7 separate regions of the Homo sapiens genome follow, and all the other regions are linked to region 1. The links are contacts of gene promoters, found by promoter capture Hi-C in blood cells and fetal thymus (Javierre and others, 2016). All regions are on one chromosome and are shown on one strand. Each heading gives the region's core, a stretch centred on a gene start or on the middle of the fragment in contact. The rest is flanking DNA. Distances are from core to core; before and after follow the strand shown. Region 1 holds the start of PGRMC2 (progesterone receptor membrane component 2). Region 2 overlaps JADE1 (jade family PHD finger 1). Region 3 overlaps SCLT1 (sodium channel and clathrin linker 1). Region 4 overlaps JADE1 (jade family PHD finger 1). Region 5 overlaps SCLT1 (sodium channel and clathrin linker 1). Region 6 overlaps SCLT1 (sodium channel and clathrin linker 1). Region 7 holds the start of INTU (inturned planar cell polarity protein).

Evidence for each region. Contacts are between HindIII fragments. The CHiCAGO score rates a contact against its expected background, and 5 or more counts as called.
Region 2: a fragment that was not itself captured here is called in contact with the fragment with the promoter of PGRMC2 in region 1 in 17 of 17 cell types (neutrophils, total CD4 T cells, fetal thymus and 14 more); the score reaches 11.0 in neutrophils.
Region 3: a fragment that was not itself captured here is called in contact with the fragment with the promoter of PGRMC2 in region 1 in 1 of 17 cell types (neutrophils); the score reaches 5.6 in neutrophils.
Region 4: a contact is called between a fragment that was not itself captured here and the fragment with the promoter of PGRMC2 in region 1, in 13 of 17 cell types (non-activated CD4 T cells, naive CD8 T cells, naive CD4 T cells and 10 more). The highest score is 10.7, in non-activated CD4 T cells.
Region 5: a contact is called between a fragment that was not itself captured here and the fragment with the promoter of PGRMC2 in region 1, in 1 of 17 cell types (neutrophils). The highest score is 6.6, in neutrophils.
Region 6: a contact is called between a fragment that was not itself captured here and the fragment with the promoter of PGRMC2 in region 1, in 6 of 17 cell types (total B cells, naive B cells, monocytes and 3 more). The highest score is 13.0, in total B cells.
Region 7: a contact is called between a fragment that was not itself captured here and the fragment with the promoter of PGRMC2 in region 1, in 1 of 17 cell types (monocytes). The highest score is 5.4, in monocytes.

What each region holds. Positions count from the first base shown.
Region 1 is chr4:128,284,782-128,289,070 of GRCh38, forward strand. It overlaps PGRMC2 (progesterone receptor membrane component 2), which reads right to left and starts at 3,032. Exons shown (of 3, transcript NM_006320.6): 1 at 2,592-3,032. The coding sequence starts at 3,009. RefSeq lists silencers at 2,672-2,731, 2,912-2,961, 2,972-3,151, 3,472-3,661, 4,033-4,289. The HindIII fragment of the contact is 4,970 bases long and covers 1,488-4,289 here.
Region 2 is chr4:128,868,886-128,872,590 of GRCh38, forward strand. JADE1 (jade family PHD finger 1) reads left to right here. Exons shown (of 11, transcript NM_199320.4): 11 at 2,470-3,705. The coding sequence ends at 3,377. Among named protein-coding and RNA genes, the nearest start is that of JADE1, 61 kb to the left of the region's middle. The HindIII fragment of the contact is 4,763 bases long and covers 1-3,705 here.
Region 3 is chr4:128,937,002-128,941,283 of GRCh38, forward strand. The region is part of intron 17 of SCLT1 (sodium channel and clathrin linker 1); the gene reads right to left. Among named protein-coding and RNA genes, the nearest start is that of JADE1, 130 kb to the left of the region's middle. The HindIII fragment of the contact is 1,283 bases long and covers 826-2,108 here.
Region 4 is chr4:128,848,210-128,852,318 of GRCh38, forward strand. It overlaps JADE1 (jade family PHD finger 1), which reads left to right. Exons shown (of 11, transcript NM_199320.4): 5 at 771-958; 6 at 3,848-4,059. Among named protein-coding and RNA genes, the nearest start is that of JADE1, 41 kb to the left of the region's middle. The HindIII fragment of the contact is 9,059 bases long and covers 1-4,109 here.
Region 5 is chr4:128,886,659-128,890,717 of GRCh38, forward strand. SCLT1 (sodium channel and clathrin linker 1) reads right to left here. Exons shown (of 21, transcript NM_144643.4): 20 at 2,021-2,116. Among named protein-coding and RNA genes, the nearest start is that of JADE1, 79 kb to the left of the region's middle. The HindIII fragment of the contact is 3,764 bases long and covers 472-4,059 here.
Region 6 is chr4:128,916,608-128,920,316 of GRCh38, forward strand. The region is part of intron 18 of SCLT1 (sodium channel and clathrin linker 1); the gene reads right to left. Among named protein-coding and RNA genes, the nearest start is that of JADE1, 110 kb to the left of the region's middle. RefSeq lists an enhancer at 565-614. The HindIII fragment of the contact is 409 bases long and covers 1,129-1,537 here.
Region 7 is chr4:127,629,090-127,632,964 of GRCh38, forward strand. INTU (inturned planar cell polarity protein) reads left to right here and starts at 3,868. Exons shown (of 16, transcript NM_015693.4): 1 at 3,868-3,875. RefSeq lists enhancers at 3,516-3,875, 3,718-3,875. The HindIII fragment of the contact is 1,090 bases long and covers 1,971-3,060 here.

The DNA of each region.
Region 1 (4,289 bases), core at 1,782-4,281:
TTAAAAGCAAAACTGAACTTGTATCTGTTTTATAGCCAGAAATTTGGCTTTAAGATTTTTTGAAAAGTACTACTTATTACATTTTCTATTAATATGCAATATCAACATATTCTAAGCCCATAAAATGATCTGGCTTTCTTTAAGGTTCCTTTCAATAATAAAATATTCAAATATCTGTTATGTTGTTGATCAACTGTAGAATACTAACTGTATATCACTCTTAGGCTGTTCAACAGAACCTAGGAACTGGCAGAAACTAATCTAAAACTGACTTCTCCATTGTAATCTCAAGAGCCTCCCTCAGTGCACATACCATAAAAAAGCAATCTACCACCTATGACTCTTAATTTTTAATTTTTTTTTATACCGAGTCTCTCTCTGTCGCCCAGGCTGGAGTGCAATGGCGCAATCTCGGCTCACTGCAACCCCCACCTCCCGGGTTCCAGCAACTCTCCCTGCCTCCGCCTCCCGAGTAGCTGGGATTACAGGCACCCGCCACCACGTCTAGCTGATTTTCTTGTATTTTTAGTAGAGACGAGGTTTTGTTATATTGGCCAGGCTGGTTTCGAACTCCTGACCTCTGGTGATCCACCCGCCTCGGCCTCCCAAAGCACTGGGATTACAGGCATGAACCACCACGCCTGGCTTTAATTTTTAATTTCTATCACAGAACAAACGTTTGCCACTGGAGGCTGCCAAACTGTTTCTATGACTGTCTCTCTTAGCTATTTTCAGATACTGCCAAGGCATAATGTGTGAGGACTAATACGATTCTTTGTACTAATACTTTGTTTTCTTCAGTGGCAGTTCAGACAGGGTACAAAAGCTGATCTTTTAGCTGGGTAAGGTCTATATTAAAAATTTAAACCTGTACAGGATTTCTAATCACTTAACACATTTTAATACCAATGGGGGAAAAGCTTGAACTAGGTATAAAATGCTGTCTAAATCCTTGATTTAAAAAAAATTTACTTCGCTTGGCCTGTTTAAATACTGTACTTTGGCCCTGTTCTCTTGTCCCACGTGTGCTTAAGTAAACAAAAATGTATTAACCATTTCAGTTGATATAAGTAGGCAGACACCTTGTGTTCACATTTATGTAACCAGAAGCAAAAACTCTGTAAGCTATGTATTTACTTGGTTGGATTAAATGTGTATATATACACAGAAGTACAAACAACTAAGAAATAAATTACATAATTCAACACCAAAAATCTCCTATTTCTTATCCCTATTCCAATGAACAAACTACAAACCAAAGCACTTCTAAAATATCTTCCAGCTATCAAGCACTGAAATCAGAAGTATATATTTTTAAGTGTCAATAAATCTTATACACCTACAGATTAAATTAAGGAGAAAACCAGCTTACTTCCAGACTGCCAACCCTATGACTTTAAGGCTTGGAGGTACTCTCTCCAATAACAGGTCACTTTAGGTCTCTAATTTAATTATTTATTCTTATTGTAGTCACCACTTTTTTTTAAAGCTTAGTATTAATCAGTGCACAACCAGGATGCACAATGTTGCTCAACTGTATGATATACCAACAGGTTCCATGAGTCTGGGGTTTATTAACATAATCCAAAATGTATGCTACAACCACACTGTAAAAAAAGGGCGTCTAAATCAACTACCCTACACAAAGTTCCCTGAAAACAAAGTTCTCTCAAAACAAAGTTCTAAAAATCTTTAACTTGCATAACTGGCACATGGGGGTATAAATCTACAACTCTTCTAAGTTTTTTCTCCTTAGTTCTGCTAAGTGAAAACACAAGTCATTATCAACGTGTACTTGAAAAGAGAAAAAAAAAGAAAAAAGAAACCAGAGACACGCCTGCTGGGTATAGGAGCTCCACCCCCAAAACTCAAGGTGAATATCCTTACCAGTCTTTAATAAGCTCTGCATTCTGGTCTGTTCTCATCCCACATACCTTGTTAATCATGGAAAGCAACTCCGAACTAAAACTGGTTTAAAGAGAGTCCGAGGTGTTGCTTATACGTCTGGACTTCAGAGACTGGAGGGTTGGGACTTTACATGCCCCTAAACGTGGCCTTACGGAGTAATACAGCGAGGGAAAAAAGGAGATCAGTGGCAAAAAAAAAAAAAAAGGGGGCAAGGAAAAGAAAACGGTGAATTACAGAGCCCAAAACTTTAGTTTAGGTCCCAACTTCAGAAATCTCCCTTCCCTGGTGCCCCATCCATCCCAGGAATCAGGAGACTCAAAAAAGGTTAAGGGCCAGCGTTGACCTGTGACAACTAAAACGATTTTGAAAAATCCAGCCAAAGAAACAAAAAAAAAAGGCTGCGAGGAGAAATGGGATGGAAGAAAGATGAATGCTGAGAGCTGGTCTCTGGGGCGCCACCGGGGACCCTGGTTTCGGGGGAAGAACTGGAGGTGCCCGTAGCTGCGGGGGGACGGTGTGTGTGTAGGGGCGGGATGGGCCGTCCCAGGTGCGGCGGCCGAGGCGCGGGGGTCCCGGAGACGAGAAGGCTGGGCAAACTAACCCGGTGCCCAGAGGCCTCCCTGTCCGAAGGGGGTTGTGCTTCAGCTGCAGGGGGTCCTTCCCCTCCCCTTCCAACTCCTCACCCGGGCCGTAGAACTTGCTGCCTTTGGTCACGTCGAAGACTTTCCCATTGACCGCGAGCAGGATGCGCGGGTTGCGGGAGCCGTCGTACTGGCGCAGCTGCTCCAAGCTGAAGTCCCGCTTCTTCATGCGAGGCAGAGAGGTGGCGGGGCTCTCCTCGCCCGCCCCGGCCCCGGCCCCCAGACCCCGCCGCCCCCAGCGCACCCACAGCCGGTAGGCCCCCAGCAGCACCAGAGCCACCAGCGCCACGTTCAGCAGCATTTCCCCGCCCCCCGTCAGAAGCGCCAACGCCGCCGCCGCCCAGCCTCCCCCTTCCGCTGCCGCTCCCGCGTCGCCTGGACTCTCGCTGCCGCCGTCGTTGCTGCTCTCGCTGCCACTCCCCAGGGTGCCTAGCTTCACGTCCCCATCACCAGCCGCCATCACTGCCCGCCAGCGCCTTCCTCCTCCTCCCCGCCCCCTGCCCTCCCCAACCCCACGGCCGGCCCCGCCCATCTGGGGGCCTCTCAGCCAATAACGTGAGAAGAGGGGGCGGGGTCAGGCCGGCTCCTGATTGGGTGTTGACGGGGTAACGTTGTCTCGGATCTCCCGCCCCCTCCCTTCTTTCGCTGGCCGCGCACGCGTGCAACGCCCCGCCCACCTCGCCCCACACTTCCCTGCTCTCACTCCAAGCCTCCGCTAGGTTAAGTAGACGAGCCGGGCGGGTCTGAAGAAAAGATGCTACGACGGCCGCGCGGACGCTCATGGGCGGGGCGAGACCACAGCGCGTGCGCGGGCTCCTGAGCGCCACGCGCTCGCCTTTCGTTCGTAACCCCTGCGGGAGGCACGCCCCGCCCAGTCTCCAGGCTCTGCGCGTGCGCCCTGGAATCGCTTCCCTTCCTAGGCCTGCGTTCGCGTCCGCAAACTCCCGCCTCCTTGCGCTCCCCCCGCCCGGGAGCTTCACGTGCGCCTTGGCGGCCGCGGGGGCAGGTCCGGGCTGGACGCCTGGCGGAGGACGCGGGCAGGTGGCTTGTGGGAGGCTGGGGCATAGTTGAGCTGCAAGGCGCAAACCGATGAGGGGCGTCTGCTTTTCACCAGGGCGCCGTCGCTTTTGTCGGGAAACCGGCAGCGTAGGCGCGCAGACCGGGAAGCGGCAAGAAGATTTGGCCACGAGCTGGGGTCTTCCTGGAACGGAGAGAAAGCACGGAACCCGCACCGGGCTTCTCTGGCATCGGCAGTCTACGTGCTCCTCGCGCTGGCACCGAGCAGCCACTCCCCGCTGGGTTTGGCAAAGGCTGCTCTTGTAGAATTTTAAAGGATTTAGAGTCTCATTATTCCTTGAATCATAACTTCTGCGGCCGTAGGGAAGTGGACAGGTTGAGGTGGTCTTTCTATTCGTCATTCACTCTTATTTGCAGGTTCTGTTTCATGTACTTGGACGTCTTTTAGCCTCTCACACCTTGAAATTCTAGTGTGAAAAAGTGACCTCTGAAGTCTCACGCACTCAACTCGTTTGACGAACTCGTTTGACGTGTTCTCTCTTGCCCTTTGTTGTCTGTTGTCTTGAGTCTCATAGAATAGGTTTGAACCTTTCACTGTCGGTTTTGTAGGAGTCACTGAGGATATTGACGAGGCAAGTGACAGGGTCGACACTCTTGTAGAGAGGCTGTATAGCAACCAGGTGTCTGAAGGATTAGAGGCTGGGGAAAGAGTGGGAAAGCAGT
Region 2 (3,705 bases), core at 267-2,766, 580 kb after region 1:
TTTAAAGTTCTAGCTGCACCATTCTTGGTGCTTGCGTTGTGCAATCATAGTTGATTCACTCTTGTTTTTGTGCATTTGTGGCTTTTTGTCACTCCATCTAGATTATTATGGTGCACAGAGAACAAAGAAGTTGTTATAACCTGTTGTGTTGAAATCCAAATTCTGGTTTATCTAACCAATTATGTGCGACTAGAGGGAGCTCGGTCATCTGAAGAAATAAAAAAAGGTTTAGGGAGGTTTAAATAATGTTCTTGAAGTGTTACATAGTTTGAATGCAATAACTTGTTGATATCCTAGATATTTTCTTCCCAAGATTAAGTATTTTCCAGGTGAATCAAGTGTATATCATTAGCTGGAACTTGCAGTTTAATTGTTAAGATTTTAAAAATAAATTTTCTAAGTAGGGTGTCATATGTAAAAGTAGGTCGATTCAGATTCCCTAAGGTGAGCTCTCTCTTCATGATTCCTACCTGAATACAAATAAATGAGATCTGTTTAACTGCCTTGGAAGACTGTCTGGTGCAGATCACCGAGCCTACAGCAGCAAATGCTGAGCTGGGATCACTAATACAAGTTGTGCCTGTGGAGTTGTGCCATTGGAGGGCTTTCTGCAACTCTTAGGTCATTATGTAATGAGTGATTCCCTGTAAAAATAAGCCGTAAAGAGCATTTTCATCTGGTTTCATTTGAGTTATTTCTCATGGATATTGCAGGCAGGTTTTTGCATTTCATGGCTGAGGTTTTTACTGGGTGAGCGAATGATATTCTTAATAAGTCTGGGAGTTATTTTGTGGTAACAGAGCTGTAATGTAGATCTGCATTCAGAAGTCCTACTATTTCAGAAAAGGAAAACAAATCTTCCTTTCATTCTGATGTAAGAACCATAGGTATGATCAGTTGAAAACATTTATCTTCCTGTAGGATTCTGTTGAGTAATGCAGTTGAAACCCTTTAGGGTGCTTTTTTTCTTTTTCCAGTCCTAGGCTTCAGTCGTGTTCTTATTCATGCCTAAAGGCTGTCTCCTGCCTGAAGTAGAGCAGATGGTCATGATTTATATGTCATTTAGGGTCCATGGTTTAAACTCTGTGATTCTGAGAGTGGGTAGGGTCATTTGCTGAGAGTGTCCTCAGTGGCAACAGTGCTTATGGGGGGTGGGAGGGTCATGAGTTGGAGGCTCTTTAGAGACATGGATTACAGTCAAGGAGATAGAAATCAGAGTTCAGAAAATGTTAGCCTCTTCTTACCATTCTCTTTTCCTGTGGCAGGTGATTGAGTAAAAGAAATATATGCAGTGTGATGTGAAGGTTGATTCTAATGATTGATTCTTGAGAAAGCAGCATTTCCAAACCAGCAGGTTGTAAAACACCTCCTGTGGTCATGACAGCTCTGTGTTCTGAGTCGCTAGCTATGTTTCATTTGCTTGCAGTGTCTGTGTCTGGTGAGCACTAGGTTCTCATATGGCCTCCTGTCTCATAACCTGGGGGCTGAACCTTGTTTTCTTGGTGGCTCATATCTTATGGGAGACAGAAAACATGAGAACTGCTCTTTCTAGATGATCTTGAGGCTGTTGTAGAATCATGGTCTTTATGACAAACACTAATGTGTTATGAATTCACCTGCTAGGGGTAACAACTCATTAGTGGGTTGTGAGATGAATTCAGTGGGTCATGACCAGTATTAAAAACAAGTAAAGTATAATAGGAAATGTCAGAGTACATTATCAAATGATGAGGGTTAATATTATTTCGTGAAATGTGAACTCTTACTAGGTCATGCTGTGGAATTTAGTCACTGTGATTTGCATCAAAAAATACGAAAAACATCAATTTAACTTACTTCAAGTTGAATGACAATTCAGTTGAATCCCACAAATGTATTTTGCACATAATAATAATGAACATTTTTGGAACGCTTACTATGTGTCAAGAATTATTTCACACATTTCCTTTATTCATTCACATGTTTACATGTACTTGTCCTCGTAATAGCCCTGTGAGGGTACAGACACATAGAGAAACTTACAAGCCCCGAGCCCTGCTTTTTGGGTCCTCTCAGTCTCGTACGGGAGGCAGAAGACTGGACCGTGGAGGAGCGCGGCGCAGGTGCTGCTCTGTAACCAGGTAGAGGGAGCAGAGGCAGCCATCAGCCACCTGATGAGTTCTGCATGGAGTCCGCTCTGAAAATCAGATCAGTTATTTTGTTTGGAGGAGGTCTAGTTTTATGAAAAATTATGTGAGCTTCAGCTGTTTTAGAAAATGTGGCATATTGAGTCTGCAGATTGAATGGAGATTCTCAAGGCAGGTCATCTCTTCACTATAAAAACCAAATTTGTACAAACTTGGTGGTGTAAGTGTTGTGTTGTTGGGTGGGGAGTTCACATCAATTGGGCCACACTAAGGGTGTAGAATTTTATTCTTTTGGATTTGCTTCTGCTGTAATTTTTCTTTATTTGTGGTTTTATGTTTATAGGTGTGCCTTCTTCCTGCTCCTCCTCCTCACTGGAAAACATGCTTTTGTTTAACAGTCCTTCTGTTGGCCCTGATGCTCCCAAGATAGAGGACTTGAAGTGGCATTCTGCATTCTTCAGAAAACAAATGGGTACTTCCTTGGTTCATTCGCTGAAAAAGCCCCATAAGCGAGATCCTTTGCAGAATAGCCCTGGAAGTGAAGGCAAAACCCTGCTGAAGCAGCCAGACCTGTGTGGTAGAAGGGAGGGGATGGTGGTCCCAGAGAGCTTTTTGGGTTTAGAAAAGACCTTTGCAGAAGCACGTCTCATATCAGCACAACAGAAAAATGGTGTGGTGATGCCAGACCATGGGAAAAGAAGAGACAATCGTTTTCATTGTGATCTCATTAAAGGAGACTTAAAGGACAAATCTTTTAAACAGAGTCACAAGCCTCTCAGGTCCACAGATGTGTCCCAGAGGCATCTGGACAACACAAGAGCTGCCACCTCCCCTGGAGTGGGGCAGTCAGCACCTGGCACAAGGAAGGAGATAGTGCCCAAGTGCAATGGCTCCCTAATCAAAGTAAACTATAATCAGACTGCAGTCAAAGTGCCTACAACACCTGCCAGCCCAGTGAAAAACTGGGGAGGATTCCGGATTCCAAAGAAGGGGGAACGGCAGCAGCAGGGAGAGGCCCACGATGGGGCCTGCCACCAGCACTCAGACTACCCATATTTGGGCTTAGGCCGAGTTCCAGCCAAGGAAAGGGCAAAAAGCAAATTAAAATCCGACAATGAGAATGACGGGTATGTCCCCGATGTGGAAATGAGTGACTCAGAGAGTGAGGCATCAGAAAAGAAATGTATACACACCAGCAGCACTATCAGCAGAAGGACAGACATTATCAGGAGAAGCATCTTGGCTTCTTGATGCAACAGAGATGATGCGGAAGCCCTTTGGGCTCGTCATTGGGTTTGCTAGAGGAGAGCTCTGATGTGGGGGAGAAGCAGAAACCCATTAATCCTGAGCTACACAAACACATTTACTTGCAATTCAGATTAATTTTTTTCCAGAGTCATTTTTAAATCATTTTTGTGAGAAGTTTGTGTTATTTGCAACTTGTTGAGGAAACAGAAGAGTAGATTGTAACCATAAGACACTGCTAAGACTAGAACCCGAACTGAACACTAAAATAAAAATGAAATGTTTTAAAGAAGGCAAGGCTTAAATAAGCCTCATGAATTTTTATAGCCCTCTG
Region 3 (4,282 bases), core at 217-2,716, 650 kb after region 1:
GGTGCGGTGGCTCATGCCTGTAATCCCAGCACTTTGGGAGGCCAAGGTGGGCAGATCACGAGGTCAGGAGTTTTGAGAGCAGCCTGACCAACATGGTGAAACCCCATCTCTACTAAAAATACAAAAATTAGCTGGGCGTGATGGCACACGCCTGTAATCCCAGCTACTCAGGAGGCCGAGGCAGGTGAATCGCTTGAACCCAGGAGGTGGGGGTTGCAGTGAGCTGAGATCGCACCACTGCACTCCAGCCTGGGTGACAGAGTAAGACTCTGTCTCAAAAAAAAAAAAAAAGAAAAAAGAAAAAAGAAATTAAGTTTACAATTGGTCTTCATTACAAACGAAAACTTATAATGTTATGTCAGTAAAACTAGAATTATGATGAACTATATATTTTTGCAACACTTTCCCTAACACCTTAAAATGCCAGTAAAAGAAAAGTCTATTTATTATAACATAACACTTCTCTCTTTATTTACTCTGATTTCTGTTGCCAGAATCCAAGGAAAGTGTTGATGCTGTTGGTATCTGAGTTAAGTATTTACTCAAACCACTTTTGACTTACATACTAAATTTGAAACTCTTTCAAAGGGCTTTGTAAAGTCAAAGATAATTATATACAGGAATTTCTTTACCACTTCAGCTCCAGTATTAGTGAATGATTAATGAATGAATTATTTTTCAGGAGAAAGAGACAATATAAACAATGATTTTGAAAATCTCTTACGAAAATGTCTTCAGTACACTTCTAAGAATTTATGTCATTATAGTAAAAGCACTTTAATTGCAGCATGAACTTATAAGTAAATGCTCTTTGGATACCCTAGAAGCTTTCTCTGCTGGGGTTCAGGGAGAGAATTAAGCCCTAATGCTTTAAGGCATCCAATGTATATAATGACTTGCGTTCTTTCATCTGTGTCTACAATGTAACTACCTAAGTACCATTTTTGGGGAAATTGAGAAAAAAGTTACTGCAATATTTTTCTATGTTTTGTGGTTCAGATGAAAAACACTTGTGGAAAAAGGCAGCAAGGTGATTTGACTTCCTTATTGTACTCTCAGGCCATCTATATTTTGCTATACTAAAGAAGTATAAAGAACACTTATTTTGTGATACTTTAATTGCTTTACAAATGTCCACAGCTGGCTAGACTTCTAGTAATTCATTAAATACAGTTACTTTCAAACTCAAAAAACAATGAGAGTAATTCATTAAATACGGTTACTTTCAAACTCAAAAAACAATGAGATCAACTTTAGTGTGTCAAAAAACACAAAACAAGGCCCAACAACAACAAAATTCTTGGCTCACTGGAGCAAACTGCAAACATTCTGTCCTTGCCACCCCTGCTAAATGCAAAATGCTTCCTAAAACTCTTCAATTTGCTTTCTCAAATAGTACACATGCAGAAATTGAAGACTTTATAAATACAGACACTGGAAAACCAATCTTGGATGTGTTAGTTTTGTGTTGTATTACTGCTGTGCAAGCCTCCTGAGGCCACTTGACCCCTGCTGCTATCTTAATAATTTTTGAATTATTAGATTCTGCAAATTTAGATTGCCTGCCCTTTCTCCTTCCCTTCCTTAATCTTCATCTCCTCTGGAGAAGTCATGTTGGTCTAACATCTCAGGTGGAAAACAAAAAGTACAGCCCCTGTGAGTTCTTTCTTATGAACACATGTTAAAAACTGATCTATGGGCCAGGTGTGGTGGCTTATGCCTGTAATCCCAGCATTTTGGGAAGCTGAGGCAGGCAGATTACTTGAGGTCAGGAGTTCGAAACCAGCCTGGCCAACATGGTGAAACTCCATCTCTACTAAAAACACAAAAATTAGCCAGGCGAGGTGGTGGGTGCCTGTAATCCCAGCTACTCAGGAGGGTGAGGCAGAAGAATCGCTTGAACCTGGGAGGTGGCAGTGGCAGTGAGCCAAGATCACGCCATTGCACTCTAGCCTGGGCAACAGAGCTTCTCAAACAAACAACAAAAACAACAACAACAACAAACCACATATGCACACAAAACTGATCTATGCATCTGTACAGTTTTAGAATTTGGCTGCCTAGTTAACTCCCCATTTTCACTTGGAAAATCTATTTATCGTTTCACAAGCTTTGCTTTAAGACCCTTTATGATAACCTGGTCCCTGCTTACTTTTACAAGCTTGTGTTGTGCCACACTATTCCCTTGCCTTTCTTTTATTTCCACTATAATGCCTTTTTATTCTTTGGTTCTTTTCACATGCTGTTTCTTTTGCCTGAAATAATCTCTTTCTGCTTACCTATTTCAACTTTTGGAACACAGTACGGTTGTCAAAACATATTTGCAGATTGAATGGTGGCTTTTTGATGTCAAAATTCAGTCTCGAACAAGCACCATAGCCTTTAGTATATACAATTCGAATTACTACCTAAATTGGACAGGTCTGTGGTAATGCTGACAGGCTAAGGGCCACAACAACTGATCTCCGATTACAAAAATTCTATTAATGATAAAATTCAGAATGTTGGATGGGAAAAGGGGTTTTATGGTCTCTCTTCTTTCTTGCTTCTTCCTTCCTTTACAGAGAAATATCCACACAAGTAGATAACTGAATTGCTGGAAACGACTCCATTTCTTAATTTTAGATGGTAATGAGGCGGAATTTAGACCATGAAGAAATGGAGAGCCCTGGCAAAAGGAGTGGTTAGAAAAGGAGAAAGCGAGGGCTGAAATCAATGCAGTGGCATTAAGATCAAATGAAAACTTCATATGATAAATTGTTAAGGTTTGTAGCCAACTGACCTCCCAATATCTCACTGTCTTTATCTTTTTGGCTTCTTTCAGTTTATCTACTGAAGATCATACTCTTTTGCAAGAGGGAGAAAAACAGCAAGGTGTAGGTGCACCAGGTTCCTATTTTGTCAAAGAAAGAATCAGTTACAAAGCAATTTATCTTACAGCCTTCTTCCTCCATAAAATAGAATTATAGCTAGTTAGTTAAGACGTTCGGCTCTTTATCAATGGCTATTCTCTTAAGCTAGATACAGATTTGGTGAGATATGTGGGGTAGATAAACTTTCTATTACTCTTTTGTTGTCCATAACATCAGTTACTATCCTGAAATGTTAAAGACGGATCTAGTGGAGTACTAGATAGGAAAAATTCATTGATTCCATCCCCACTCATTATAAAAAAAAGAAAGCAAAACAAATACATATTGTAAAATTATGGAAAATAACAAAGCATTAAAGTGAAATGTTAAAGACGGATCAACTGGAGTACTAGATAGGGAAAATTCATTGATTCCATCCCCACCCATGATTAAAAAAAAGAAAACAAAACAAATATATATTATAAAATGATGGAAGATACAAAGCATTAAAAAGACAACTATAAGGTCCCTCTATTCCCAAAACTCAGATAATCCCTTCTAACTTCTACATAATTGTTTTTATTTATGAATTCTAAAATTGTTATTACAGTATGTAAAGGATTACTACATGTATGTGTGTATACACATAAATTTTTCAATCATAGGGTGTATCAATATAAATGCATTATAAATTATTTGGAAATATAGTTTTTAATGACAATACAGTATCTTATTAAAAACATATACACTATATGTCAAAAATACATATGTGTACACACAGGTAGTAATCCTTTATACACTATAGTAACAATTTTAAAATTCATAAATAAAAGCAATTATGTAGAAGTTAGAAGTATTATCTGAGTTTTGGGAGTAGAGGGACTTTATATATTTTTTTTAATGTTTTGTATTTTCCATAATTTTACTATACATATAGATGTAACATATTTACTTCTAGATATTTAGGTTGTTTCTAATTTATTATAAATAATGCTGCAATGAACTTATTTATGAAATATTTTAATTACTTTCTTATGACTGAATTTTAGACTCTAAAGTAAATACGTACCATTTAATACTTTTAGCTGCACGTTCACTTAGAGATACTTAGCAATTAATTAATGGTGAGTTTAAACTGCTTACTGCCTACTGTTTTTTTTTCTTAGATTGCAGATTCTGTTCAACTCTCACATGATTTTTTATTCGGTTACAAATAGTTTTCTCTTATATTTTTAAAAGCTCTTTAGATAAAAGCATGGGAAAACCTGCCCCCATGATTCAATTACCTCCCACTGGGTCCCTCCCATGACACACTGGGATTATGCAACTACAATTCAAGATGAGATTTGGGTAGGAAGACAGCCAAACCGTATCAGGATGTATGTATGTCTGGCTTTAAAAGATAATGCTACATTCCCAGCAGTATCTAT
Region 4 (4,109 bases), core at 126-2,625, 560 kb after region 1:
ACTCTGTTGCCCAGGCTGGAGTGCAGTGGTGCAATCTTGGCTCACTACAACCTCCGCCTCCTGGGTTCAAGCAATTCTCCTGCCCCAGCCTCCCGAGTAGCTGGGGTTACAGGCGTGTGCCATCATACCTGGCTAATTTCTGTATTTTTAGTAGAGATGGGGTTTCACTGTGTTGGCCAGGCTGGTCTCAAACTCCTGACCTCAAATGATCCGCCTGCCTCGGCCTCCCAAAGTGCTGGGATTACAGGCTTGGGCCACCTTGCCCCAGCCCAAGGCCTGATTTTCTTTTCCCTCTCTCCCTCTTTTTTTTTGTGAGGTGTGAGGGTTGGCGGGTTTCTCCCTCTGGTTCTCAGAGTCTGCTGCGCCTGCCCTGCCTGTGTGGTGCCCTGGTTCTAATGGCCTCCAGCAGGGATGGGCAGGTCTGGTTAAGGGAAAGTGATTTAATGACTAACTCTTGAAATGTATGGGTCAGTGTGTTTTGGTGTTGGCTGCAGGCCAGAGTGGTCAGAGGTGGTGGGCAGGGCACAGCAGGGTCCCGGGAAGCAGATTTTGAAGGCTTCTACAGTGTTTTCATTTGTATCTATTGCCTGTTAGCAGGCTTTAACAACTTCTAGTTAAGGTTTTATTAGCAGTGACATTCAGGTTTTCAGCCTCTGGTGATGACCTGGGGCTCTAAGGGTTGGAAGAGGAAGACATTTGGGGCCTTGTGGCACACTTCATTGTCTGTGGCTGAAAGGGTAACCTGGCTGCCTTGTTTTTTTATTATCCAGGGTTGTGTCTGAAGAGAAATCCCTCATGTTCATCAGGCCCAAGAAGTACATCGTGTCATCAGGCTCTGAGCCTCCCGAGTTGGGCTATGTGGACATCCGGACGCTGGCTGACAGCGTGTGTCGCTATGACCTCAATGACATGGATGCTGCATGGCTGGAACTGACCAATGAAGAATTTAAGGAGATGGGTGAGAGACCATGTATTCTATTATTTTATTAACCAATGATGAATAGAGACATTTTAGGCAGGTAGGTGAGTAGCAGAAAGCTCCTTATTGCCAGTTGCAGGCAGCTCCATCATAGCTTTAGTCAGTGAGAATCGCAGCCCTGCCTTAGATCTCAGCCTGTTTGGCTGTGTCAGATGTGCTGAGATGGTTTCAGAGTGGAAGCAAGGCTCCTCGGCTCAGGCACCAGGGATTCCCATCCCCGCTCTGATCTAACTCCCTCATTCACTTACCTTAAGGAAGCTGAAGTCCAGGGAAACGAAGTGACAAAAGGGCATGGCCCACAGTTACCTGCTCTAGTGTTTTTTTCCTGTGATGCCATTCGGATTCCTTCTTTAGCCGTGGTTTGCTGCTTCTCTAAATGAACACTCTTCCAGGCATGCTCCCCATTTCCAAGCACATCATGTGTGTTTTAACTTGAGCGATTTTCCTTATGTCATGCTGCAAACCTGGAGTTCTTTTTCCCTCCGTTTATCTCTGTCCTGGCTTTCCTTCAGTGAAGCCTGACATTAGCTGTGTGCCCAGCCCTTCTCCACCTCTTTTCTGCAAGCTCATTTTAGCGTATGTAGACGTTGGAGCATCTCATGGTGTTGAGACTGGGATGGCGTATAGGTCTCATCTCACATGCCAGTCCTGATTGCTAAGGGTTGCCTTGAGGGTCTTGATGAACAAGACAGTGGAGTCAAGTCTGGGCTCAGTGTGAAAAACTGTGAGGATTAATTAGCTTTTGTGCTGTAGGTACACGGTGGGGAGGTGGTGGCAAGGGCCATGTATTGTAATCTAGGACATAGTAAATAATCACAAGATCGGCCGGGCTTGTTGGCTCATGTCTGTAATCCCAGCACTTTGGGAAGCCAAGGTGGGCAGATCACCTGAGGTCAGGACTTCAAGACCAGCCTGGCAAACATGGTGAAACCCCGTCTCTACTAAAAATACAAAAATTAGCTAGGCGTCGTGGTGGGTATCTGTGGTCCCAGCCACTCAGGAGGCTGAGGCAGAAGAATCACTTGAGGTGATTCTTCTCAAGTCACTTGAGGGGGTGGAGGTTTCCTTGAGCCGGGATTGTGCCACTGCATTCCCACCTGGGCAACAGAGCCAGACTCCATCTCAAAAAAAAAAAAAAATCACAAGATTTTTGTCATGGTGGATTTCACAGCCTTGAAGGGCCAAGACCTTTTGCGTCTTTCCAGGGAACGTAGCATAGGGTGTGGCTTGCAGTAGATGCTTGTCCTGCCATTAGGCTCACCACCTGTTGAATGGGAGTGATAATGTAGACTGAGCTGAGCATGGTGTTGTCTTCTACTCGCTCAGTTACTCAAGTGTTTTTATAGACAAAATAGACTTCCTTCTTCTTGGTCCTGCTTTAGGTATTAATGGCCAAAACATTAGCAGGCCACAAGGTGGTTTTATGGCATGAGTTCAGGAGTTCTCAGAGATCTTTTGGAATTGAATACTAAATTTTAGCTTCACAGATGATACAGTTTCTGCTGTGTTGTAAGCACATTATAAAGACCAGTGTAATACACTTGACTGGAATCTAGGTGTCCTGTGTTAAGTCAGAGGACTCAGCCCAAAGACTCTTCGCATTTATGAATGGTTTAAATAATAAGAACTGGGCTAATCCATATTTGAAGATACTGTTGAATACATTGGCAAGATTAATTTTGTAATTTTATAACATAAACGGAACGCATGCTTAAATATGTTTGTCTTAGCTGTTATTGGTCTTTTTTTCTTTCTTTTTTGAGATGAAGTCTCGCTCTGTGGCCCATGCTGGAGTGCAGGGGTGCAATCTCGGCTGACTGCAACCTCTACCTCCTGAGTTCAAGCGATTCTCCTGCCCCAGCCTCCCAAGTAGCTGGGATTATTGGCACCTGCCACCATGCCTGGCTAATTTTTGTATTTTTAGTAGAGACAGGATTTCGCCGTATTGGCCAGGTTGGTCGTGAACTCCTGACCTCAAATGATCTACCTGCAAAGTACTGGGATTATAGGCATGAGCCATCGCGCCTGGTGTTTCAGTCTTTTTTGCATTTGGTTAACTATGTTTTTCAACCTTGTAGAAGTAAGAGGATGAGGAGGGATAAACCATTTAAAAATATTTGAGTGCCCAAAGTGAAATCTGTTTTGAGAGAACTGTTTTACCTACCAAGAAAGGCAAATTTTTAAAAACATCCATACCATTATATGAAGTCATGGTTTTGAAGTCACTTACGTGTTAGTTGTTATGTGTAATGAGTATAATGAAATGACTTATTCAACAATGTATGTATTTAATATCCTTGAATCCTTTTAAAATTTACCTTTTGCTTTTCCATTTACTACACTGCATCTTCACTACCTGACCATAGGAAAATAACAGTTTCCTGGAAGACTCTCCCCTTTGAAGATTGTTTCTTAGAAGGATCTGATAAGCATTTAATAAAAAATTTTGGGGCCCTCAGAGATGGATGCATCGATGGGTTGATTGATTGATAGATTGAGACACGGTCTTATGTCACTCAGCCTGGATCACAGTGGCACAGTCATGGCTCACTATAGCCCCAACCTCCTGGGCTCAAGCAGTTCTCCCACCGCAGGCTCTTGAGTAGTTGGGACTACAGGTGTGTGCCACCACGTCTGGCTAATTTTCATATTTTTTGTAGAGATGGGGTTCCACTATATTGCCCAGGCTGACCTTGAGCTCTTGGGCTCAGATGTGAGCCACCACGCCTGGCCAGTGATTGGATTTATTTATTGTACAATTATTTATTCATTATACATTATTTTTAAGTATAAATAAACCAGTACTATTTTGTAATATTTATTAATATGGATTTATTAAAATGGGTTTTGTGGCATTTTTAACTTCAGGAATGCCTGAACTAGATGAATACACCATGGAGAGGGTCCTAGAGGAATTTGAGCAGCGATGCTACGACAATATGAATCATGCCATAGAGACTGAGGAAGGCCTGGGGATCGAATATGATGAAGATGTTGTCTGTGATGTCTGCCAGTCTCCTGATGGTGAGGACGGCAATGAGATGGTGTTCTGTGACAAATGCAACATCTGTGTGCACCAGGTATGTGGGGCAGGGAGGCCAGAAAGAAGAAACCTGGGGCATGAGCCTGT
Region 5 (4,059 bases), core at 1,104-3,603, 600 kb after region 1:
TTTGTTACAGAACAATTCGTGAAGTGGTTACTGACAAAACATTTTAAAAAGGTTAGTCAAAAGAACGGTGGAATCTTTGCCATTGGAGAGTTTAAACAACAGAAGAAACATCAGTACTAGACTGTTTAGGTTTAATTTTTTCAGGGGAGAAACTAAACTAGATGCTAACTGGTTATATAATTAATGTCCTGTAATCGTTCCCTTTTTACTATAGAACTCAAGGTAGTTGATTTTCGTAGACGTTTTCTTTGCCATTTGCCTTAAAAAAGGTAAACGTGAAGCTTTAAGGATTATGATACAGAAATTTAATTTCTTACATATCTGTCTAAATATCTACTTACCACTATAGGAAATGCTTTACATGTGTTAATTCTTTTGATCCTTTAATAACCGTATGAGGGAGGTATTATTATCCTATATTAAACATGAGGAAACTGAGGCTTAGAGAAGTTGAAATTGCCCAAAGTCACAAGCTTTTACTTAATGGCACTAAATGGCACTAAGCGATTTGCCTGACACCAAAACACATACTTGCCAGATACTGTCCAGTGCACCTAACTTCTGTTACCTTATAACCTAAATACATTCTTGCATAATTAGCTAACCCATTAGTTAATTCATAACTTCATAAGACATAAAAATTATTTGAAAAGGCTGTAATTACTTTCAAGAGGGAGAGTAACAGAAGGATAAATTATTATTAAATTTTCTTTAAGTGGCATGCCATGTTCATAACAGAAGTAGATTCAAAAAAATCTGTAAATATCATGAACATAAACTGAATTCAGCAAGCAGAGTGGCTTTACTATGTATAAAATGCTGTAATAGTTAAGAATAATATTAATTTTGATTGAAATAATACATTTATAAGCAAATATAATTAATAATATAGTAATTTGATTTGTTTTTGTTTTCTCGCCTCCCCTATCTATCTATCCATTTCAACTGTCTGTGTCTAGTCTATAATCACTGAACTGGTCTCATTTTGTTCCTCATATGAGGGACTATTGCTCCTACTTTACAATCAAGGGCCTACTTCATTTATATGATGTGTGTGTATTAAGAGAAATTATCCCTTAGTATTTCATTGTTATTCTGCATTTTCTACTCTATTTCCCACTGGACAACTTTTATATTGTATTTTAGATTTTTTTGGTCATATGAAAATATGCATTAAGTAAATTAACTTGTAAGCCAAGGAATTTTTTTCCACTGATAAGTAAAATAAAAACAAAGTTAGTGAAATTTGAAATATTACATTCAAAGCAATATTATCTACTTTCAAATCTGTTAGTGAATCTCTGCCTGGTTTTAGATAGGACATAATTCTAGAGCAGTGTTGTGTAACAGAACTTTTTGTTATGACAGAAATGTTCCACATCTATGCTGTCCAATGTGATAGCCCTAGCTACATACAGCTATTGAGCACTTGAAATCTGACTAGTATGATGGATGATTTCAATTTTAAATTTAATTTAATTTAAATTAATTTAAATATAAATAGTGGCCTGTGGCTAGAGGCTATGATTGTTAGACAGTATATGTCTTTTCTGTTTTTTTTTTTTTTGTTGATACAGAGTGAGGGTCTCACTCTGTCCGCCAGGCTGGAGTGCAGTAGCACAAACGTGGCTCACTGCAGCTTCGACTTCTTGGGCCCACGCCATCCTCCTGCCTCAGCCTTCCCAGTAGTTGGAAACAGAGATATGCGCCACTATATTTGGCTAATTTTTAAAATTTTTTGTAGAGAAAAGGTATTGCCATGTTTTGCAGGATGGTCTTGAACTCCTGGCCTCAAGTGATCCTCCTGCCTAGGCCTCCCAAATTGCTGGCATTACAGTTGCGAGCCACCACGCATAGCTTATTTTTGTTTCCAATGTTTACTTTTTCAACCTCACATATTAAAGGGATTAATTTTAAAATATGTTAATCTAGTAAAAATAAACTATTAAGTTCCCTGGGAACTTCTAAAAAACTTATCTTTGAACTGTTTATTATCTAGGGATAAGAGGATGCTCCCTACCTGCTGGGAAGCTGAAGCAGCTCTCTCTTCTGCCTGACTTAGACGCCTTTGAAGTCTGTTGGCTTTTTCTTGATGCTCTAGAATTAGCTTTTCATTCTATTAAGGGGAAATAGAAAACAAGTTAGAAATCCATATGTGACATGGAGATGTTTTGTGGAATAATCAACGAAAAATCTGGACATCACTTTACCACTTATAAAATACAAAGAATATTATCTCCAAATTTACATTTTTCAAGTTATGAGCTTTAAAATACAAACTTTGTTTTACATTCTTAATAAATTGTTTTCTTTCTCCCACATGCCAGCAAAGAAAGTGAATTAACAAATCTCAAAGCAAAATGACTCGGAAGAATAAGACTTTCAATTTGTGAAGGTCACTGCTTCAGAATCACCTGGACTGTGAAAACACAGACTGCTGGGCCTTACAACCAGAGCTTTAGTAGGGGTGGGATGAACTGTTTCTGTATGTTCCCCAAGACATCTGCATACTCCAGAGTCTATTAGGGTCAAAAGAGCTATTAGGCACTGTTAGGGGTTGAATTGTGTCCTAACCCCCAGTATCTGGGAATGTGACCTTATTTGGAAAGAGAGTCCTTGCTGATGATCAAGTTGAGATGAGATCATTAGGGTGGACCATAATCCATATGACTGGTGTCTTCATAAAAGGGGAAATTTGGACACAGAGACACACATGTACAAAGGAAAGACAAGTTGAAGACACAGAGAGAACACAATCTACAAGCCAAAGAATGTCTGAGGCTACCAGAAGCTGGGAGAAAGGCATGGAACAGATTCTCCCTCACAGCTCTCAGAAGGAACTAACAATGTCAATACCTCAATTTTGGACTTCTAGCCTCTGGAACTAAGAGACAATTATTTTGCGTTGTTTAAGCCACCCAGTTTCTAATACTTTGTTATGGCAAGAACTATACAGGCATCATGAATACAAAGCTGTCACAACATACTGTCAGACAGACAAGTGCAAATAATCTATCAATTAAAAAATGGAAATTAAAAAATGGATTAGCTCTCTCCACACTTACTAGCCTGGTTATAGTACATCTGAAAAAAATATTTTTGTACAACTAGAATTGTTAAACAGTTTTTCTGGCACTTATCTGAATGAGATAATAATACAAGCCTAATCAGGAAGAGTTAGAAAAACACATTTTCTATGAAGAACCAGAAACTTATAGTTCCCATGTCCTAACATACAAGTGATAAGAATGAATGTTATGGCTATTACAGTAATATAAAATATTGAAATAACAGTATCCTGCTAAAATGAGCTTATTATATTTCTTATTATGCCCAAAAGCAAAATTAAATGTTATGAAGAGAACTATATTGGCTGGTCCAATTTACCAAGATGTTTAAATATGTAGCCTCTAAATTTTAAGAAGCACATCATATGCTAGAGAAAACGGGGGAAAAAATTCCATCATCTGTAATAATCATTTTCATATTTATACGCAGACTTCATATAATGCAACTTCTTCTATACTGCTACCATAATGGTTGAGGAACAGTTCAGATTGGATAAATCCTAGTATATGCAACTGTTCCTTTTCTATTCATCATTTTGGTTGCTTTTGATCTTCCTATATTATTAACATTACTGTACTGAGTACCTTCTTTCAAATTTTTTTTGTATTTTAAATTACTCATTAGAATAGATATCTGGAAATGGGAGCTACCTGAAAGATTATTTCAATGGCTATTCCTCAATTAACTTCTAAATGGCTCATATCAATTCATAATGCCATGATGCTTAGGAGTAACGATTTCACTATAGCTACTACAGTAGACCACAAAGATGGAGTAGACCATATATTCAGAGAAATTCCAACAAACATTTGAAGTTAGAACATCAAATGAAGAGATCTAAAAAGCCTCAATCATAATCCAAAAATTGTTTACTTTTTGAATGCCTCAAGGAAAAAAACTTGAACTCTTGCTATATTTAGTTCTAAGGCATAAATCTAAATATATTTTAATATATTCCAGTAGGCAAAAGTATTTTTTATGTGATGTGTC
Region 6 (3,709 bases), core at 83-2,582, 630 kb after region 1:
ATAGTTAAAAATTACGGTACATTTTTTCAAGATGTTTTGAAGATTTCAGCCAATGCAACAGACACTTACTTTTTCATCTACCGTTTCAACACAGTGTAAAAACAAATCAAAGTTAGGCACTTTTGGTCCATTAGAGCAATGTGTCCTTGTATCATAGGCTTAGGTTCCTATACTATAAGTTGCTTCAAGGTATAGTATAGTTATACGTCTTGACTTAGTTCTGACTTGTCAAGACTTAAATGTCTTGACTTAGTTCTGAGACCCTGGCAAAGAGGCTGGTCAGTTCCTGTTTTGAGAAGCTGAGTGTACAACTCCAACCACTTCCCTTATTGGGCTGTCACATTCTGGGCCACTACATCTGCCGTAATCACTCTAGGGCCAGGAACCAGAAAAAACCAACCAACCAACCAACCAAACCAGAAACAGCCACTACGCCGTGGAGCCCACTGAACTTGTTCACATCAGCCAATCTAAAACTTGTTCACCATGGCGTCACCTGTTCCTTTCTGTAAAAACCACAATAAAATGTGTGCTCACAGTTGCCCCCTTCACCTTCTACCTCGTGACTGACCCCAGTGCTTCTCGAGTGGTCCTGTGTGGTGTGCTGTGTTTGTCCAGGGAACTGTGAGCATAACAAACTGTAAAACTCTTTCCATTTTCTCTCTCTTGATCTGCATCTGGCCTCACCATCTCACACAAAGTAATATAGTTAAAATATAATGGTACACAACATATTGATTTTAGTCAAGAAATAATATTAAGATCAACTACTGTTTCTTAATTATTATGTATTATTTAAGTGCCACATTGGTTTTAATGATCCTGATACTAATCCCCAGCAATAGTTCTGATAATTTATTTTATAGCCACAGTCCATTTCAATTTCCAGGATGCTGTAATTGACCACAGACATATGTAAACTCTGTATGGGACAATAATTATTGGAAGCCAAGTTCTCGATTACTGTGCTAAGTGAGGTGGGATACTTTTAAAGAATATATGTTTGGATCTAGTAAAGGTATACTAAGTTATTCAGATTAATCAATTCAGTAAAAACTCCACAACTCTGTAAAAGCATCAAACAGAGGAAAATATAGTGAAAATGTTCCAAGACAACTTCTGAATGAAAGCTTATAATGAGAAAAGCTAACAGAATCTTGGAGCACCAATACTTCCTCTTTCCTGGATGGCATTTACAATACTGCACACTTGGGATCTGACCCTGTTACCACTGAGAGAAAGGGGTGTGGTGGAGAGATCCTCTCCATCGTTGATCTGGCATCCCAAAAGAGCATCACTTCAAGGTTAAAGTGAACCATATCTGAAAGCATGCCACTTCTCTCAAAGTCACAGGACTACAGGGAAGCTACTTTGGTTATGAACAAAGCAGAAGAAAAAACGTATTCTTCTGTGGCCACAGACCACAGATACACCTCAAAATTAACAAAGCCCAGAAACCCCACCCTTAGTTGAAGTTCTCACACCCAGTAGTGCTCTCAGGCACCCAGAAGAGGCAAAGGCAAAGATTCTCTATGGAAGCTTTACAACAAAAATTTTCAATGGCAATTACTAATAAATAGATAGAGAAACCAGATAAGATGCTTAGGAACCAAAAGAAACAGATCTGTCTGATGACAGATATTGGAGTGGTCAGAAACAAACTTTGAAACTAAGGAATACAATAAAATGGTACAGGACATAAAACACAAAATGATCACTCTAAGAAAGGACCAAACTGAACTGATAGAGCAGGAAAACTCACTTCAAGAATTTCATAATACAATCAATCACAAGTATTAACAGTGCAATCAACCAACCTGAGGAAAGAATCTCAGAGTTTGAAGACTGGTTTCTCTGAAATAACTCAGATAAAAACAAAGAAAAAACAACAGAGAAGAATGAATAAAGCTTCTGAGAAATATAGGATTATGTAAAGAGACCAAATGTATGATCTAGGATCAAACCTCCACATACCAATATTAACCTTGAATGTAAATAGGCTAAATGCTCCAAATTAAACGGCATAGAGTGGCAAGTTGGATGAAGAAGCAAGACCCAACTGTATGTGATCTACAAGGAACCCATCTCACATGCAAACATACCCGTAGGCTCAAAATAAAGGAAAAGAGAAAAACCAAATGGAAAACAGAACAAAGCAGGGATTGCTATTCTAATTTCAGACAAAACAGTCTTTAAACCCATAATGATCAAAAAAGACAAAGAATAACATTACATAATGGTAAAAGGTTCAATTCAACAAGAAGACCTAACTATCCTAAATATATATGCATCTAGCACAGGAGCACCCAGGTTCATAAGGCAAATTCTTAGAGACCTACAAAGAGACTTAGATAAGCACACAATAATAGTGGGAGATTTCAACATGCCACTGACAGTATTAGGCAGATGATCAAATCAGAAAACTAGCAAAGATATTCAGGATCTGCACAGGACATTTGACTAAATTGGCCTAACAGATATTTATAGACCTCTCCACCCAAAACAAACAGAATATACATTCTTCTCATCTGCACATGGCACATACTCTAAAATTGACCACAATCAGCTGCAAAACAATCCTCAGCAAATTAAAAAAAAAAATCATACTAAACACACTCTTGGACCACAGTGCAATAAAAATAAAAATCAATACTAAGGAAATTGCTCATAATCATATGATTAATGGAAATTAAACAACCTGCCCCTGAATGACTTTTGGGGAAACTATAAAACTAAGGCAGAAACCAATAAATTATTTGAAACTAATGAGAACAAAGATACAACATACCAGAATCTTGGGGACACAGCTAAAGCAGTGTTAAGCAGAAGTTTATAGTGCTAAACGCCCTCAAAAAGTTAGAAAGACCTCAAATTAACAACTTAACATCACACCTAGAGGAACAAGGCAAACCAACCCCAGAGCTAGCAGAAGACAATAAATAACAAAAATCAGAGTTGAACTGAAGGAAATAGAGATGCAAAAAACCATACTAAAGATCAACAAATCCAGAAGTTGGTTTTTGAAAGAATAAGATTGATAGACCACCAGCTAGACTAATAAAGAAAAAGAAAAGATCCAAATAAATAATCATAATGACAAGGGGATATTACTATTAACCCCACAGAAATACAAAAAAAAAATAACCTCAGAGACTACTATGAACATCTCTATGCACACAAACCAGAAAACCTAGAAATGGATAAATTCTTAGAAACATACAACCTTCCAATATTGAACTAGGAAGAAATTCAATCCCTGAACAAACCAATAGTGAGTTCAGAAACTGAATCAATAATAAAAGTCTATCAACCAGAAAAATCCCAGGGTCAGAAGGATTCACAGCCAAATTCTACCAGATGTAAGAGAAGAGCTGATACCATTCCTACTGAGACTACTCCAAAAAATTGAGGAGAAGGGACTTCTCTTTAACTCATTCTATGAGGCCATAATCATCCTGATATCAAAATCTGACAAAGACACAAGAAAAAAAGAAAACTTCAGGCCAATATTCCTGATGATCATAGATGCAAAAGTCCTCAACAAATACTAGCAAATTGAATCCAGCAGCACATCAAAAAGACGATCCGCCACAATCAAGTAAGCTTTATTCCTGGGATGCAAGGTTGGTTCAACATACACAAATCAAGAAATGTGATTCACCACATAAACAGAACTAAAAACAAAAATCACATTATCATCTCAACAGAT
Region 7 (3,875 bases), core at 1,266-3,765, 660 kb before region 1:
AGGTTTATGAGGCAGGGTATGAAACTACTAGATGCTTACAAAAAAAAATTGATGAAAAATTTGTAGGAAGAAAATGTGATATTTTCCTAAAATTTGTAAATGTCCTTTTTTAATTTCTTATTTTATTTTTTACTTCCAATAAGTTGCTTTTAAAACAAGGAAAGGTTAACTTATTAAAGAGGTAACTAAAGCACTTTTTATTTTGAAATGGAATCTTAAATCATTTCTAATGTTTAAGATTGTGGTGAAAGTAAGCATATATATTTTACCATGAAACTCAAAATAATGAGTATAGGGACTCCAGCTTTTTAAAATAATATTGTTTCTCTGATTTTAAAAGTAATACATTTTTTGTTGGATCTCAATGCTAATGGAAATATTTGTTTCCCTTCCTTCCTGTCTCCACTTTCTTCAAACTTCCGACCCCATTACTTCCTCCATCACGTTCAGCTGGCAAGGTTGCAGCCTACTTACCAGACGATAAACACTGTCACATGGAGACTGCCTCAGCTTCCTGCCTGAAACTGGCAAGTCACCATCCACACCAGCACCCTTCTTTGGCTCTTTCTTCTAGTTTTAGGGAAGAGGTGTCCAGGGAGGTCATATCCCTCCTTCTGTGCCTTGGATGCTATCCCCTCCTACCACCTCAAGGACCTCCTGTTACCAGAAAGGGGTCCCAATCCAGACCCCAAGAGAGTTCTTGGACCTTACCCAAGAAAGAATTCGGGGCAAGTTCATAGAGTAAATTGAACGCAAGTTTATTAAGAAAGTAAAGGAAAAAAGAAGGGCTACTCCATAGGCAAAGCAGCGGCATGGGCTGCTTGACTGAGTATACTTATAGTTATTTCTTGATTATATGCTAAACAAGGGGTGGATTATTCATGAGTTTTCTGGGAAAGGGGGAGTAGTACCCAGAACTGAGGGGTCTTCCCTTTTTTAGAATATATTAGATAACTTCCTGACATTGCCATGGCGTTTGTAAACTGTCATGATGCTGATGGGAGTGTCTTTTAGCAACTAATGCTCATTATCCTCACTGCTCACTGTACTCTAATTATGATTCGCGTATAGTGAGCAGTGAGGATGACCAGAGGTCACTTTTGTAGCCATCTTGGTTTTGGTAAGTTTTGGCTGGCTTCTTTACCGCAGCCTGTTTTATCAGCAAGGTCTTTGTGACCTGTATCTTGTGCCGACCTCCTATCTTGTCCTGTGACTAAGAATGCCTAACCTCCTGAGTAGCAGCCCAGTAGGTCTCAGCCTTATTTTACCCAGCCCCTATTCAAGATGGAGTCGCTCTGGTTCAAATGCCTCTGACACTCCTTTTGCCCATTACCCCTTTACAAACTCCTCCTCCTGTTCTTCAACTTTAGTAACATATAGACCTCTTTTAAGGAAAAACTATTGTGGATTTCCATGGATGACTTAAGTTTTTTAATTATAATTTTAAATAAATGAGGTATAATCTGTGCTTTATAGCTCCTATATAAGATGAAAACAATTTTATGAATTAATACAAATAAATTACAAAATGTAATCGCTGTTATAACACTATAAAAACACATTTAGAAATTAAAACAAAACCATAAAACCTAGGAAATTCAAATGTATATAGTTTAATGTACATTTGTACATGTAATATACAAATTCAAATGTACATAGTTTAATGTATATTTGTACATGTAATGTACAGTTAATGTAAATACAACTAAACTTCAGCTTAAAAGTATAAGCTGCATACTGCAGCTTGTTTGGCTGTGAGGAAGGTAAAATATACTATCCTGGCCATTTAAGTTTAATACACTTGAAAAACAGCAAGTGCCTTTGTGCTGCTTCTTAAAAGCAACAGATGAAGCTCCCATGTGAAAGACACCCTCCCTATACTAGAAAAATGTAACATTCTTATTCTCAAGGGCATAGAAGTGAAACCAAGAGAATTCTGTACAGACCTTGTTAAAATAACTTATCTTTTAAGCTTCCCAATTTAGTTTAGTTGCTTCTTCACAACTAACTATTCTTTGTCCAATCCAGTATATAAGTTAACTGACTCTAACTGCTTCTTTGGGTCTTCATTTCTTTATGAGGGCTCCCCTGCCATGTAAAACTTGGATTCTAGAGCAAGGAGAGAGGTCTGTCTGCCAGGCTCAAATTTGCGAGGTGGGAGTGGGTTCCAGCCTATTCAGGGAATGGCCAGTTGGCCTGTATAGATGAAGCACAGAACTGAGAGAAAATTTAGGGCAGTTCCCCAAGTTTGCTGAATCACAGGGGGCACTTGTTTGAAATAGAGATTTCCAGGCCCCTCCACTGGAGATTCTGATCCTGTTGATGTGGAGCAGGGCCTCAACATCTGTATAACAAGTTCCAGTTGCTTTTCTTTTGTTAATCTATTTTAGGTAAGTTTAATTCTCAGGCCCAGCTGGGACCCTAAGAAGATGGAGGTAGAGTTTTTCTGCCCCTGCAACAGCTACAATTCAGGTTCCTTTGAGTTCTCCATGCATATACCCATACCGGCCATGTGATGACTCATCTCCCATTACTCTTTCTCTGTTGGAACCATGCCATAATAACAATATAAATTAATACTTCCTCTAAGAAATTTGTCATGGCCCCACGTATACTACTTTGGTTTTTTCTGGATATTCCATTAGAACCTTGTATTTATTGTAATACTTATCACTATGTTATAATTGCCCATTAGAGAATCCCCAGCACCCAGCCTTTTAGATCATAAAATAACATTATATCCTTTTTTTACACGCTGCAACATGAACATTTCCCCCATGCTTTACTCTTTGAACACATTCTAGTTAAAATCATAATCATCATATTTTATATATATTTAACTTTTCCCCCATTATTTGACATTTTAAGATTGCTTTCAGCTTTTCACTTTTACAAATTTTATAAATTTGCATCCTTTCTCAGAGTAGATATCTAATAGTTGAATTACTGGGTTCTGAGGGAGGAAATTTCATGTAATGGTTATTGACTTAGGTTCATTTCTTGGTTGACTTTGTTGACTGCTAGCCATGTAACCATTAGTAAGATGCATAACTTCTCTAAAGCTTAGTTTCCTTATTTAATATAGAGAAAATATTTACTTCATAGTATGTGAATGCTCAGCATTGTATATGAATAAAGTGAGCAGAGCCAAGGCTGACTCTCAATCAATGCTAGCTGTTATTTTTGTACTTAAAAAATACTTGATATAGGTATTCATAAATAACAGGTAGATTTTACCTGTTTACACTTCCAACTTTAATAATGAGAACACTTAATTAGATTATAAAATTTTGAGTTAGAAAATGAACATGAAGTTGATTCCACAGGATTGCCACTCATTTGTGGCACTCTACAATACCCACTTGGGATAACCGTGAAAATGTTTGCAATTGCGAAACAATATGAAACCCATAAAACAATGGAGCGTATTTACATTAACACCTAGATCGCGTTGCTTAAAAGCGTCCATTACTTGCACGGATGAGGTCCTAAGGAAAGGTAAAGTGCGGTTTCCTTCACCTCGAAGGAAATCCAGGCTGACCGACAGCTGTTAGGCATTAGAAACACAGGACAAAGAGCAAACTGGATATCCAGCACTGGAAGAAAAAGGTGAGAAGCCCAGTGCATCTCCGCCTGTTTTAACAGGTTATGCTGCTCTAAGGAATTGCGTTCCGGAGAGCGTAAGCGGTGAAGTTTTAGCTATTTCTATCCTTCCAACTGAGAAGCCCTCCTGGAAGTTTCAGCCCATTGGCTGCTTTCTGTTCTCCCTGTTTCTTCTGGGAAGCTTCTCCGTCTCCCTGGCAACGCGACCTGCCACCAATTGCAGCTAAGGATTGGTGGTCACATGGCCTCTGCCCCTTCCCAAGCAGAGGCAA